Linked DNA regions of Homo sapiens: region 1 is linked to region 2. Evidence: promoter capture Hi-C in human tissues and cell types (Jung and others, 2019). All regions are on one chromosome and are shown on one strand. The core of a region is centred on a gene start or on the middle of the fragment in contact, and the rest is flanking DNA. Distances in the headings are between cores, read along the strand shown.

What was found. The method cuts DNA at HindIII sites, captures the fragments that hold promoters and counts their contacts. A contact is called where the count stands out against the background at its distance.
Region 1: a contact is called between a fragment that was not itself captured here and the fragment with the promoter of RPS6KA1 in region 2, in 8 of the 25 tissues and cell types used here (H1 embryonic stem cells, bladder, dorsolateral prefrontal cortex and 5 more).

The regions. Positions count from the first base shown.
Region 1 is chr1:26,462,475-26,469,965 of GRCh38, reverse strand. It overlaps DHDDS (dehydrodolichyl diphosphate synthase subunit), which reads right to left. Exons shown (of 9, transcript NM_205861.3): 9 at 1-1,071. The coding sequence ends at 835. It overlaps DHDDS-AS1 (DHDDS antisense RNA 1), which reads left to right and starts at 2,429. Exons shown (of 3, transcript NR_125953.1): 1 at 2,429-2,918; 2 at 6,533-6,590; 3 at 7,096-7,210. The HindIII fragment of the contact is 4,677 bases long and covers 1,732-6,408 here.
Region 2 is chr1:26,527,395-26,534,868 of GRCh38, reverse strand. It overlaps RPS6KA1 (ribosomal protein S6 kinase A1), which reads right to left and starts at 5,108. Exons shown (of 22, transcript NM_002953.4): 1 at 4,886-5,108. The coding sequence starts at 4,948. It overlaps LOC124903884 (a long non-coding RNA gene), which reads left to right and starts at 3,471. Exons shown (of 2, transcript XR_007065558.1): 1 at 3,471-3,671; 2 at 4,308-5,749. RefSeq lists enhancers at 2,680-3,591, 3,592-4,502 and a silencer at 4,744-5,223. The HindIII fragment of the contact is 11,905 bases long and covers 1-7,474 here.

The sequences.
Region 1 (7,491 bases), core at 2,821-5,320, 64 kb after region 2:
TGGTTCTGCTCAGTCCTGTTGTGTTACAGGGGAGGCCTGTGCTGGATTCAGTTCACCAGGGCCTACAGGCCCTTCTGTTACCCTGAACCATGGAGGGGGCCAGTCTCATTTGGGAGTGGAGCCTGGCCCCATGCCCTGCAAGAGGAGGAGAAAAGCTTGTGTGGGCTGAGTCGACAATAGGTAATTGGATTGTAATCGCCCGCCTGGCTTCCGCGCACCATTGGGGGTGCTGAGTCTTTCAGTGAGCAATCAGTACTGTGTGGTGGGAGAGGGTAGAGATTCAATAGCAAATCCCAGGTGGAGAGCCAAGGGGGAGGAGCAGCAGATGGGCAAATTTTCTGTCTCTCCCACCCCTTTTTTCCTTACCCAAATAACTGCCTGCCTATTAGTTATTTACTAGCAGATCCAAGGTAGAGCCAAATCTTTTGTGGAAGCTGGGTGGAAGGCTAAAATGGAAGGGTAAAGAGCTAGGGTTTTGGGGAGAACTCTTCCCTGAAATTCTGTGTGTTGAAGGATGTGCTGGTGGAAAAAGAAAGTGCATCTAAGAGACAGGCAGCTGATGAGTTGTGGCCCTTTGCTCTCCAAACCCTATTGGTGACCAGACCTAGGTTTAGTGTACTCGTGGGAGACTTTCACCCTCAATCCTCCTCAGGAGCCTGTCCCAGGCAGCCCAAAGGTATCTATGGCCAGCAAACCTGGCCTGGGGGGCTCCCCAGCCAAGCAAAGGGAACACCATTCATTATCAGGAAAGGAGGTGCCTTTCACCAAGAAAAGGAAGGGGAGTGGAGCCCTGGAGGCAGAGGGCAGGGCAAAGTGGCAGGTGGCCAGCCTCATTCAGGCTGATGCAGTGCCCAGACGGGCCAGCCAGTCAGCTCGCTTGAGTTCCAAGGCCTGCAGGAAGCCTTGGACTCGCTCTTCCCGTCTGGCCGAGAGTTTGTGCAAGCGTGTCCTTCGGAGCTGGGCGTCCCCACTGGCTTGGAGCCCCTCTCGCAGCAGCTGCTCTGTCACTGTAGCCTGGTCCCTCTCCAGCTGCTGCCTCTTCCGCTCCTCTGCATACATGTCTCGGGCCTTCTGCTAGAGAAAAGTGGGGATTGGGGTGGGGAGATCATTTTTAGGAGTGGGTGAAACTGGGATGGAGGAGGTAGGGGGTGGGGCACAGGGTGGGCCAAGTGAAGTGGAACAGTGGAAAGTAGGTACCAGATTTGAAAAGGCTTGGGAGTAGGTATGCAGTGGGTGGTGCTCATGTTGTACAGGCAGGGCAGTGGCAATTCTGGGTCCATCTTGGTTTGTTTTGTGTGGAAGCGTCTGTACTTCTTAAAGTTTTTCTCATGCTCTTGGAACCAAACAAATGTGGGTCTGACTTCTGATTCCCCCATCAACTGGCTTTGTGTCTTTGGGCAAATCCTGTCCTAACCTCATTTCTTCATCTGTAAAGTGGGGGTTGTGCCTACCTTGAAGAGTGGTTTTAAGGATTAGAGATAACATATGCAAAATCCTCTCTAGGATATTAGCAGGCTCTTAGACAGAAACAGCAATTTTACAAGTTGTTATTGTCTATTCTCCGCTGCAAGAAAGGTCCTATTCTTGTCGGGGACATGTCCCTTGGGTCACTTCCTTTGATCTCCCCAGGTTTTCCTCTGAGGGTACCATCCTCCCCACTCCCTAGGCTATTTTTCAGAGCTCCAGACTTGCCTCCTGTATGAAGACCAGCCTGATCCTTCCAGCAAATGACCCCCCTATGAACATTCTGAGAAGCAGGTTCAACTCTCTTAAGCCACTTATTGCATTCTGCATAGTAGAATAAGTGTTAGTGTTCACAATCCACTCTTTCTGTTAGAAAATAAGCCCTTGGAAGTTTGAGAGCCTTCAAGCCTCTTGCAACCAGCTCTGACACCAGGTGGTGATCATACTCCCTGGCAGCAGTTATCATCCCAAGTACTAGAGGGCAGAGACTGGGCTTCTTCCTCTCCAGCACTTGGGGTGCCCTGTACATGTGAAACACTCAACTGACTGACCACGTGATCCCAGGAGAGCAGTGAGGATGCTCCTGATACAGAAGAGCGGAAAATCCCTTTGGAGCAGAACCAAGGCTTTCCTGTGCCTCACTGATCCTCTCTGTTCCTGCCAGTCTAACTGACCTGCAAAGCCTTTGCACTAGAGCTCCTCCTGCCAAACCTATTCCATGTGTGAGAAACTCTATTTTCCTATGGTATCCTATACCCTGATGACCCTTCCCACATTCTACCTTGTATTACGATAAACTTGTATACATGTTTTTGTCCTAATCAGCCTGTAAGCACCTTGACTGCTCTGTCTTCATGGTTTAAAGAATATCTTACATGTGCACAACCACTTCATCTGTTGCCTCACTTGACCCTCACAATGGAGCTGTGAGGGAGGTACTTTCTGCTGGAGACAGACATGGAGCAGGGAACTGATTTGCTGTCTCTCAGCAATAAAGGTTTACTGCATGAATAAGGATGACAAATGAGAATTCTGGACTGTCCCCCCCGGCTCCTGAATAATCCCAGGCATTCAAGAATACTTCTCTTCTGCTATTACAATGAATTACATGTGGAGCTATGAGGACTTCGGGCTTGAACAGTTGCCGTAGAGCTCTCCGTCTTGCTGGAAGGGCTTCTTCCAGGCCTTGGTCAGGAGGCTCCCTGGGTGCTACATACAGGATTTTTTTTGAGGATATGGAGATGCGCAGGACACGATCCCAGCAATCCAGGTGCTTACAGGCTGATTGTACAGCCATGCACACAGAGTGCCACGATGCAAAATAGGATGTGGTAAGGGTCATGCAGTTCAGAGGAGAAAGCAAGTGTGGCTGATGAACATCACGGAGCAGTGACCTTCATGGACAGACAGAATTTGAGCTGGCCCTTTAACCAATGAGGAGGATTCAAACAGAGGTGAGGTGTGTGGGGGGCAGGGAGAATATTCTGGCAGTGGGAGTAATGAGCAAAGATGCATGGAACCGAAGAGCCTGTTAAGGCCAGAGTAAGTCCACCTGGAGCACTGGGGTTTGAGAAGTTCCTAAGGCCTCCCTCACCTCTCTAAGGCTCTCTCTTACTCTGCAAAACCGGGATAAGAGTACCCACCTCACTGGGTTGTTTGAGGAAAAATGAGATAATGAATTTTCAGCCTACTGCTTGGCTATTAACTGTTAGCTGTTCTATCACCGCCACTTGTGGACTGGGCTAAGTAGTCTAAGTTTCTGGCAGAACAGAAAGGATGGGGGACGCTCAGCAACAGAGGGAGGAAATATGGAGCTAGCTAAAGCCACTTCATGAGGCGCAAGCTTCTTCCAGATGGCATCAGAGTGCATGCCAGCAATGGGGGCTGTAGCCCAGGCAGAGCCTGGCCCCTGTCTGCCAGGAATTAGCAGTTCATTGTTCAGATAGCAGAGTTGGGAGGGTGTCTGCTCGTCATTTTACAGAAAATGACAGCGAGGCTGAGATGGCTGAAGTTCCCTTGGCTTCTCCACTAAGATAACTTCTTGAGAGGACAATGTGAAGTGTATCTCGTGCCTGTGTATAAGCTCTACTTTCTAGGGGTGGAAAAGCTGGTGGCCTGTATCTGGATACCTGTCTATCCAGCTTCCACATGGTCTGAATCTACCCTTTCAATCTCAGAGGTGTTTCCAGTTCTTCTCAAGTACTTACCCTTGGGAAATCCAAGCTAACAGAAGTCCTAGAGGTCAACTTTTCTCTCCCTGACCATTTGTCTACTATCCTTGTATAATGACCAATCAGGGTAAGTGAGGGCGTTAATTCTTTCCTTAGAGACTTTTTGTACAGACCTTATCCAATCTTGGTGCAAGGGCTCCAAGAAGCTCACTTTGAGAAATGTGGTTCTAACCTATGAATCTAAATTCCTCCTGGGCATTATCCCTCTCTGCTCTTATTCTCTCCTTGGTAGAATCAGAGAACAAGATGTAATAGTCCCTCCAGTACTTAAATCTAAAAGTCCTCTACCACTCTGTTGGCACCTGGAGAGAGGCTGCAGGTCCTTGGCTTCAAAACATTAGCCAATGAAAAGTCCTTCCCCAAGCTGCAACCAGCCAGCCCAGGTCAGCAGCATGAGGAATGCATTTCTGAGGGCTGCTCTCAGGCAGAGAAGGGCACCTCCTACCAGAAACATGATGTTCTGAAGCACCCTCAGAGTCTCCTTGCCTGGGGAGTTGTACTGGGGACAGGATGTGCAGGGTGCTTTTCCAGAGAGGAGTCTGAGGAGAGGCCAAGAGACACACATGTGGGGAACAATATTGGCCACCATTCTTGGAAAATGAACTCTGTTCCAGCCACTGCACTCAGCACTTGACATGTGTTAGCTTACTGAATCCCTATCACAAACCTGCAAGGTAGGTATTACTGTAAACGCTACTTCTCTCATTTTACAGGTGAGGAAAATGATACTCTGAGGGGTTAAGTAACTGTACAGTCATATAGCTATGTAGGCAGTGCCAATATTCAAAGTCATGAATGTCTGAGACATTAACTCAAGCTTTTAGGCTAAGGTGGGAGGCTCGCTTGAGCCCAGCTGCTCAAGACCAGCCTGGGCAACATGGCGAGACCCCATTTCCACATGCATACATATATGCATACATACATAACTCAAGCTTTTATCCTGAGGAGAAGATAGTGACAACCTGAAGAGCAGAAGAAATATAATGTTCAATCCAGCCCGTTTAAATTGTGACAAATGTACTACAGGAAGCTTCGTGGGAACATGTGTCTTTTCCCTCTCTAATATCATCCTTGGAGATGAGGTGAACACTTTTTACTCATCTCCATCAGTGACCTCTCAAGGACCTACCATCCATGCAACTTGTGATTGAGGATCAGCTGCTCTGCACTGCCGCACACCCCCTCCCTGGCCTGATTCTCTATTTGTCCCTGCCTCTTTGCTGACAAGTCCTACTGCATCATAGTCAAGATCTCCCTTTGCCAGCCTTTAAGACTGGCTAGGTGACCACCTGGAGACTGTCATGGTCCATTCAGATACCAAGGTCTGGCTCCCCACAACTTGTAGCCAAGTCCCTGCTTCCCTTACGATCCACCCGCTGCCTTCCTCTCAGTAAGCTACTCTAGGTCCAGAGCCTAGCCCCTTGCCCTGGCTTCCTGCAGAGAATAGGGACACATTGGGCAGGGCCTAGAGACAGAGCAGCTCAGATTTTAAAATGGGAATTTGGGTGATGGGGCAAGAGCACAGACATACAGGTAGGAAACTGGAGGGCATGGAACAGGTAACTGGGAAGAGTCCAGTTTGGCCATGATACAGGGTCTGTAAAAGGGAGACATGAGAAAAGCCTGGAAAGACCTCTCTGGTCTGAGAACAAACTGGTGAGGATGCTGTTAGTCTGGATTCTCCCCTTAGTGCATCTGCCAAGGTGATATGATTTCTAGAAACAGAGCTTTGAAGCTTCTGGGGTAGAGAAAGCCTGGCCAGGACCTCCAAGGGCTCCTGCTGGAGAAGGCTTCAAGATAATCAGTATCTCTATTATAACTTTGGATTCCTTGCTCTAAAAACAGAGGCAATAATAATAGTATCTGCCTTAAAGCAGTTCACAGAATTTACTGAAAGGATGCCTGACATGTGGTAAGAACTCAATACTGGAAGGATGCCTGACATGTGGTAAGAACTCAATAAAAGTTTGCAAATATAGGCCGGGCGCAGCGGCTCATGCCTGTAATCCTAGCACTTTCGGAGGCCAAGGTGGGTGGATCACCTGAGGTCAGGATTTTGAGACCAGCCTGGCCAACATGGTGAAACCCTGTCTCTACTAAAAATACAAAAATTAGTTGTGCGTGGTGGCACGTGCCTGTAGTCCCAGCTACATGGGAGGCTGAGGCAGGAGAATTGCTTGAATCCGGGAGGCAGAGGTTGCAGTGAGCCGAGATCATGCCACTGTTCTCCAGCGACAGAGTGAGATTCCGTCTCAAAAAAAAAAAAAAAAAAAAAAAAGTTTGCAAATATGATCCATAGGTAAAAATGGAACACTTAATAGTTGACCTCAAACACCTTCCACCCCATCCCAGGAAACAGCAGAACTATACAACCAATTGCTATGGCCACAACCTAAGTGTCTTGGTTCCTAATAACATTATTATTTGTACTTATTTGTTTTAGCCTACAAGAAACAAGAGTTTCAGGCCGGTCGCGGTGGTTCACGCCTGTAATCCCAGCACTTTGGGAGGCCGAGGCGGGCAGATCACCTGAGGTCGGGGGTTTGAGACCAGCCTGACCAACATGGAGAAACCCCATCTCTACTAAAAATATAAAATTAGCCAGATGTGGTGGCACATGCCTGTAATCCCAGCCACTTGGGAGGCTGAGGCAGGAGAATCGCTTGAACCTGGGAGGCGGAGGTTGCAGTGAGCCGAGATCACGCCATTGCACTCCAGCCTGGGCAACAAGAGCGAAACTCCATTTCAAAAAAAAAGAAACAAGAGTTTCATAATTACATTACCAACATTGCCACTAACAATAAACCTCTTAAGTAATGTTTAATTTTGTGTTGCAGTTTGTATTATCCTGAAAAGAAATTCCACTAAAGATGAATAGCAGAGAACTGTGTTCAGGTAAGCTGAATTAATTCCTTTCTCTGGGGAGTTATATTATCACCTTGATATAGCTAGTTTCACTTGTTTCTATTTCAACATTTGTTTTTATCCCGTCTTCACTCCTCCCCTTCCCTACTGCCACCACCCTACCTCGAGGCGCATCCTCTCTCACCTGGACTACTGCAGGAGTTCTGTCTCTTGGCTTTAACTCCAGCCCGTTGAAAATTCTGAATGATTTTTACAAAATGCAACTCAGATCCCGTCATCCCCTGATTAAAGTCCTTCAGCTTTGTTACCATGACCTACAAGGCTCTATATGAGCCAAGGTCTGACTCTAGCCTCATTTCCTGCCCTTCTCCCTTGGCACATTGACCTCTTTTTTGTTCTTCCAAGACCCAAACTTTAACCTCAGTCTCTTTGCATTCTCTTCATTACTTTCTAGCACATCACTCTGTATTCTTCACTGCCTTATTACAATCGGAACTTATATATTTGTTTACTTGTTTATTTCTGTCTCCTCAAGAATACAAGTTCCACAAAGGTAGAGATCTTGTCCCTCTGGCTACCTGTTGACTCTCCTGTGCCTAATACAGTGCCTGATTCATACTACTCAATAAATACTTATGGAATGAATGAAACTTGAGTTAACTCCTCTGACAACCATATGCAAAGTATCTGAGAAACGTGAAATTACTATAAAAGACTTCTGAGCAGCCCAATTAGAGGTAAAAACACAAAAACTCATGCACCAAGCTCCTTTGGGCTTCATGCAGAGCCAGTTCACTCTCATTTTATATACATAATTCCAACAAGCTTGACTATCTGGTTTCCTTGTCTATAGCTGATTTAAAACAGTAAATACTATGGAAGAGGAGAGATACTGTCAAAATTAACTGTTGACAGCAGTAGGAAATGAAAG
Region 2 (7,474 bases), core at 3,859-6,358:
TAGCATAGAAATCAAGGCCATCATCTTCAACTGCCCAGCACAATAACTAGGAATGTAGGTTTTGCAACCTGACCTTGTGGGTTCAAATTCTGGCTTCTACCACCTGCGTGACCCCTAGAAGGTTAGTTCATTTACTGGGGCTTCAGTTTCCTCATCTGTGAAATGCGGATCAAAGTAACATACCTCAATGGTGGCGGCAAGAAGCAAATGAAATAATGCCTATAAATATATACACCTGACATGTAACTGGCCTACAAACAATAGCCATTCTTATCATTGGGCCCTATTTTTGAGCTAAACTGAACAACCACAGACCCTGAAAACAGTCTATTTTATATCCCCAGCATTTGTATGGTGGCTCCCTCTACCAAGAAAGCCTTTCCTGCCTTGTCACTTTGGCAAACTCCTGATCTTTTATCAGGACTGAATTCAAATGTCACCCCTGTCCACACAGCCTCATGTTCTTTCCTCCCTCCTCTCTACCCCCATAACCTAAGCATGCTGCAGGTTAACTCGGGAAGGGGCCATGGCTTGTCCATCATCAACATCTTGGCACCCAGCCAGAGTCCAGCATGTGGTTTATCCAGTGAAAGTTCAACCCAGCAAAGACAGCAAGGAGGCCAGAGCAGGTTCTATTACTCCTATTTTTCAGATGAGGCTCAGGAGAGTTAAGGGACTCACCGAGGTCCCTCAGCAGGCAGGTGGCAGACATGTGACCATAACCCAAAGTCACGTGGCTGCAAGCCTACTGAGGGTGGGGAGGAAGGGGTAGGTGTACCTAGAGGTGTGGGTTTCTTGAGCAGTGGCCTGGATGACTTAGGGACCCCCCGCTCTAAGGCAGTCTGGCTGCCTCTACTCCCTGGATCTCTGGCTTGGGTGTCATTCTTATGGAACGCCAAACCTGTAAGAGTAAGGGAACAGGCAGCCCTGGAGAACAGACTGGTAGGGGGGTCAGGGGGGTTGTGGGGTGCTGGCTTCCCACTCAGAGCCTGGGTCCTGGGTCCGGGGTCATCTGCCCCTCTGGCCTGACTGCTGCATAGCAATCCTTGAAAGAACACAGCTGTGCAGCCACAAAGATACAGCCACTAATCCTAGCTCTGCCAGCCACTTATTCTGCCCTTGGGTCTGTCATATCACTTTTTATTTTTATTTTTATTTATTTTTTGAGACAGTTTCACTCTTTTGCCCAGGCTGGAGTGCAGCGGCGCAATCTCAGCTCACTGCAACCTCTGCCCCGCTGGGTTCAAGCAATTCTTCTGCCTCAGCCTCCCAAGTAGCTGGGAATATAGGCCGCACCACCACACCTGGCTAATTTTTGTATTTTTAGTAGAGGCGGGGTTTCGCCATGTTGGCCCAGCTGGTCTCAAACTCCTGACCTCAGGTGATCCACCCGCCTCAGGCTCCCAAAGTGCTAGGATTACAGTCATGAGCCACCACGCGTGGCCTCATATCACTTTTTGAAGTCTCAGTTTCGGCCAGGCGCAGTGGCTCATGTCTGTAATCCCAGCACTTTGGGAGGCTGAGGCCAAGAGGCCTCACAGATCACGAGGATCACGAGGTCAAGAGATCGAGACCATCCTGGTCAACATGGTGAAAACCTGACTCTACTAAAAATACAAAAATTAGCTGGGCATGGTGACACGGGCCTGTAGTCCCAGCTACTCAGGAGGCTGAAGCAGGAGAATCACTTGAACCCGGGAGGTGGAGGTTGCAGTGAGCCGAGATCACGCCACTGCACTCCAGCCTGGTGACAGAGCAAGACTATGTCTCAAAAAATAATAATAGTAATAAAGTCTCAGTTTCCTCATCTGTATCACGAGGGCAGGTGTGTCTTGCTGACATCTGCACTTTGTTGTCTGAAATAGTACTTATCACCTAAGTGCTAAATAAATGACTGAATGGGGACAATGGTGCTGACCTTGCAGAGTACTGAATGAAGGACTTTGTCTTAGGAGTCCTTTGGCCTCTTAGAGGTTGAAGACCCACACTCCTCCCTCTTCCTCAGAGAGCACTGCTCATGAGGACAGATGCCCAGGGCCCCAGACCACTGCCCCCAGTTCTGAGATGTCAGAAATGGGTTCCAACTGGCATCATTCCTTCCCACCCAAGCAACTCTGTCTTAGAAAGAGGGGCCCAGGGCAGCGTCTGGAGAAGCTGGGCAGCAGATGGAGAAGGACAGCACGTGCCCCACAGGCAGGAAGCAGCCCCAGGAGCTGGGTTCTGAGCCCAGCATTGGCAGCCCTGCTCACTGCTGGAGGCTGGGGGCCAGGTGCCAGGGCTGGCTGGCACTGCCAGCCCTCGGCAAAGACTGGACGAGGGCCTTGCAGGATAAGGAGAGTCCGCCAACATCCGGAGCCTCTCTTGGAGCACCTTCCACCTGGGCTAGTGTGGCTCCAGCCCTTCCCCATCCCTGAGCCTCTCTCCCACTTGGTGGAAGAGAGAGATCTTGGTTCCAATCCTGGCTCTGATATTAACACATAAGCCTGAGTTTTCAGTTGTCCCATCTGAAAACAGGGGTAATAATCCCTATCTTGAGAAGCTGTTGTGAGAATTAAAGTGGGGTGACATTCGTAAGGCAGAGTGGGTGGCACATAGTAAAGCTCTGTACGTGGCAGAACTGGGCCTGGGGACAAGGCTACTGCTTTCAACAGGGCTAAGCGAGGCCCAGGCAGAATCCTCACCCACGCTTCCCATAGATTACTCCACCTGGGCTGCACCCTGGGCCAGGCCCTGCCTCCCAGCGGCCCATTTTCAGCAGCATTAAGGGAGGGCAGGGCAGTCCAGATCCTAGGTCCCTGTGAAAAGTCCCCCACCAGCCCCTCACCTGCCTCCTTCCTGGCTAGGAGCTGCCAGCAGTGGTGGTGCCTGTACGTGCAGGTCAGGCGGCTGTATCGCTTACATGTCACCTGGGCTAAGAACAGCGAGGCCCTGTTCTCCAGTGAGAACAGCCCAACCTGCGCCGTGGCTGCCCTGTGGCTCCTGTTACCCAAACAATAACACCCAGTCGCCTGGCACCTCCAGGAGTGGGGGAGGGGGGACCAGACAACAGTACCCAGCGCTCTGCACCCTCTCAGGCCCAGGAAGTGGAGGCTAGAACCTAGCACTTGCCACTGGAGAAGCAGAGGCCCAGACAGGCTGAGGACTGACTGAGGATCACACATCGTTTCTGGAGCGAAGCTCCTGAGGAAATTGCGTCCCCCTGCCCCACCAATCCCAGGAAGTCCGCTGGTCTTCCCCTCTCACAGACCTGAGATGTTACAGAACTCAAAACTGAGATGAGTTTCCCAGTTAAACCTGGCTCCCTGGTGAAGCTGGCCCCTGCCTCAGGATTCCCTAAAGAGAAGCAGGAAGTGGTGCCCCAGGATCGAGCTCCTGGGTGTCCACCCTCCCTATCAGCATAAAGTCACTCCCCAGCCTCTCCCAGCCCTACCTTCTCCTTTGGAGGCCTGGTCCCAGGGGCGTGCCTGGGCAAAGGAATCCACCTCTGAGCACCACCCCCAGGACCTTGCGCCCCGGTCCTAGTAGCGGGGTGGCAGTACAGGGGCTGCAGAGGGCAGTGTTCCTCACCTCAGAGGGTGAGTCAGCGAGAGAACCTCTGAGCAGCCTAGCAGTGCCTGTAAAATCCCCATGGCAGGAATCCCAGAGCAATTTACTCCAAATTGCTCCTTCAGGTTGGTTACCTAATCCTGCCGCGCCCACCCTCCAATAGCCAGTGTCGGCCATCCCTTTAAAGGGGCAGCACACCCTGGGGGCTGGGGACCCTGGGTGCTCACCCTGATCTAAGCCTGTGGTCCTGAGAGGCAGGACACTTGGTGGCTGCCCTAGGTAAGAGAGGGCAGAGGAGGGGACTGAGACAGGGGCTCCAGGCCCAAGCTGGGAGAAAGTCATCTCAGCTCCTGGGCTCAAATGAGGTCTCCATTCCCTCCCTGCATACCCCCAACAACCACCTGGGAAGGAGAATATCACCTGCTTCCTTCCCAGCAAGAGGTTAAGGAGGAAGTTTTCCACCAGCTCATTCAGGGGCTTGACCTTGACCCTGGGGTCAAAAGGCACAGGAAGAGGTGGCCTTCTGCACGCTTAGGGACTGGAGCCACAGAGCCCTCAAGGGAGGTCAGGAGCTGCTTCTGAGAGAGAAGGAGCTGGGTTGTCTGGGGAGTCTGGGCTGGCAGAAGCCAAACTCCCCAAGGGCCCAGCCCTTCCTACCGGAAGGGGCATAAGAAGGGAGGCAGGCACCAAGGTCCCCCCACGCCCTGCCAGGAATCATCTTCACAAGGTCTAAGGGCTCTTCCCCACTCTCGTCTCCACAGCCTGGGGTAGGGCACACAGGTGTCCTCTGGCCCTAGCCTCAGGGCAAAGAAAACCAGGAGTTCCAGCCCCAGACGGGTGGTGCCATCCCACACTCCGCATCCGCCAGGGGTCAAGAGGAGCAATCCTTCTAGGCTCAGCAGCGGTGAAGCCAGAAGCAGGGAGCTCTTGGCGGAGGGCCCTGGGAGAAGTGGGGGTCCCATAACCCCTGTCTCTGGTAGAATCCCAGACATCTGGCACTGAAGATCTCCCCGTCTGCATTAATGGAGGAAGCTCCGACAGCTCTGGACAGATGCCGGGACGGGTCCTAGGTGTGGGGTGAAGGCGACCAGATCTCAGCGCCCCATAGGATCCCCTCTCCTGGCTATGGCGGGGAGGTAGTCGGCGCTTGGCGGAACTGTCCCTCGCACACGCACACCCGGGCATAGGGGGGTGGAGCCGGACAGTGGGCAAGAGATCGGAGGGCACTCGCGCCCTCGCGGGCGCCCGCCGGACTGCAGCGGCGCTTCGGGCCGCCCCGCCCCTGTGAGGATCCGGGCTCGCCGGCCGCGGGCGCCCGTCCCCCGCCCCGCTCACTCACCTCCGGGTCCAGAGGCACTAGCTCCATGAGCGGCCAGGGCTCCTTGAGCTGGGCGAGCGGCATCTCGCCGCCGCCAGGTCACCCGCGCTCCTCCGGCGGCCCCGGCTGCGCCGCCTCCCGGGTCCTGGGGTCCCTGGCTCTGCGACCCGAACCGCCGCGCCCCCCCGAGCCCCTCGCGCTCCGGCTGGGCCGTCCGCCGCCGCCGCCGCGGCACTAGCACTTCGGCTCCCTCCGTCACCCGGCGCCGCCGCGCCCATTGGCTACCTGCGCGGGGGCGGAGCCGGAGAAGCCCCGCCCCAGCCCCCGCGGCGCGGCATTCCCAGCGCGGACCCCCGCCCCCGCCGCGCCCCGAGGGCCGGCCCCGCCCCTGCCGCGAGCCCCCGGCCCGCGCTCGGCTCCGCCGGAGAGGCCCTGCTGGCTCCTTCCCTTCCAGTGGTGTACCCCTGGACACACCACACCAGGGCCACCGTTCTCCCCCGCTCAGCTCTTTTGGAATCCCAGCCCAGATGTTCCTTCTCCTTCCAACGGGAGAGAAGCACCTTATCCCCGACCCCAGCACACACATTCACACTGGGTTCCTGGGCCTGATCTAGGCTGAGGCTTGGAAGGAGCCTGAGACCCACTCCCCTTAGGCCCTCAACTCACCAGGCCCTAGAGATCCCCTATCCTCTAATTTCTACCCCGCCCTGAAGCTAACACTGTGATCTCCGGGCGATCTCAGTGCCCCAGGCCAAGATGGGCATCAGCAGTTGTTACCACCATCAGGACCCATAGTGCCACCACAGAGTGATTGATTGATCGATTGATTTTACATAATGTATATAAATATTACATATATAAATAAATATGTATAAATAAATATTATATATATGCACATATATGTATGTATGTGTGTATATAGTGAGAGAGAGAGAGACACGAAGTTTCGCTTTGTTACCTAGGCTGGTCTCTGACTCCCCGGCTCAAGTGATCCTCCTGCCTCGGCCTCCCAAAGTGCTGGGATTACAGGCATGAGCCACCGCGCCCGGCCAAGAGTGATTTCTTAATATGCGTTTTTGCAATCTGTGCTCTGCCCTATCACTTGAAGGGGGTCCTTTCAGGTCAGGTCTCCCTGGAGTCACCTGCAGCCCCAGCTCTGGACTAGTTTGGGTTTGCGACTCTCTGAGGAGGGACCAGGCTCCCAGGATGAACCGAGGCTTGGTGGGACTTGGAGTGAAAGGCCAGGGAGACTGGTTGCCCCAGAGAGATTCAGCCTCCACCTAAAGAGCCTTAGGGGTCCGGGTGTGCTGAGATGTATTCACATGTGAGGAGTGAGCTTGCTGGAGGGACAAGCTTGCTGGTTTCGCAGGAAGACTGGTCAGTTATTTGCAAAGCTGTTCTAAGGCAGGGGAATGGGAAGGAATGTTTATCAAAAGCTTCCTGCGAGCCATGTGATTTCCTTGAATGATTACCACCACCTAGTTTACAAATCCTGAAACAAGCTCGGAAAGATGAAGTGACTTACCCAAGGTCACACAAGAGGTTGAGAACAGACTAGGGCTTAAAAAAATCAAAGTGTCACACCTGTAATCCCAGCACTGGGAGGCCGAGGCGGGCGGATCACGAGGTCAGGAGATTGAAACCATCCTGGCTAACATGATGAAACCCTGTCTCTACTAAAAATACAAAAAATTAGTAGGGCGTGGTGGCAGGCACCTGTAGTCCCAGCTACTCGGGAGGCTTAGGCAGGAGAATGGTGTGAACCCGGGAGGCGGAGCTTGCAGTAAGCGGAGATAGCCCCCACTGCACTCCAGCCTGGGCGACAGAGACTCCATCTCAAAAAAAAAAAAATCAAAGTGGATAAGGATTTCTCCAGAATCCACGTGCTCCCCCTTTTCCATGGCTTTCCCAGGGTAGGACCTCAGCTGTTGAACTGAATTTTGAGTGAAAGGACTTTGGAACCCAACAATTCTGGGTTTGAATTCCAGCTCTGCTACCTTCTTAACACAGGGAAACTCATTTTATGCCTCTAAACCTCAATTTCTCCATCTGTAAAATGGGAATTATAATCTCAATCTTTCAGGTATATAGGACAAGATTCATTTTAATTCAATAAATTTACAGCTATATATTTTTTATTTGTTTTTTAGAGACGGAGTCTCGCTCTGTTGCCTAGGCTGCAGTGCAGTGGTAAAATCGTAGTTCACTGCAGCCTTGAACTTCTGGGCTCAGGCGATCCTCCCACCTCCCACAAGTAGCTGGCACTTCAGGTGTGTGCCACCATGCCCAGCTAATTTTTTTTCTTTTCTTTTGAGACAGAGTCTTGCTCTGTCAACAGGCTGGAGTGCAGTGGCTCAATCTCAGCTCACTGCAACCTCCACCTCCCAGGTTCAAGCAATTCTCCTGCCTCAGCCTCCTGAGTAGCTGGGACTACAGGTGCGTGCCACCACGCTTGGTTAACGTTGTGTATTTTCAGTAGAGACGGGGTTTCACTGTATTAGCTGGGATGGTCTCAATCTCCTGACCTCATGGTCTGCCCATCTTGGCCTCCCAAAGTGCTGGGATTATAGGCGTGAGCCACTGTGCCAGGTCCCCAGCTAATTTTTTATA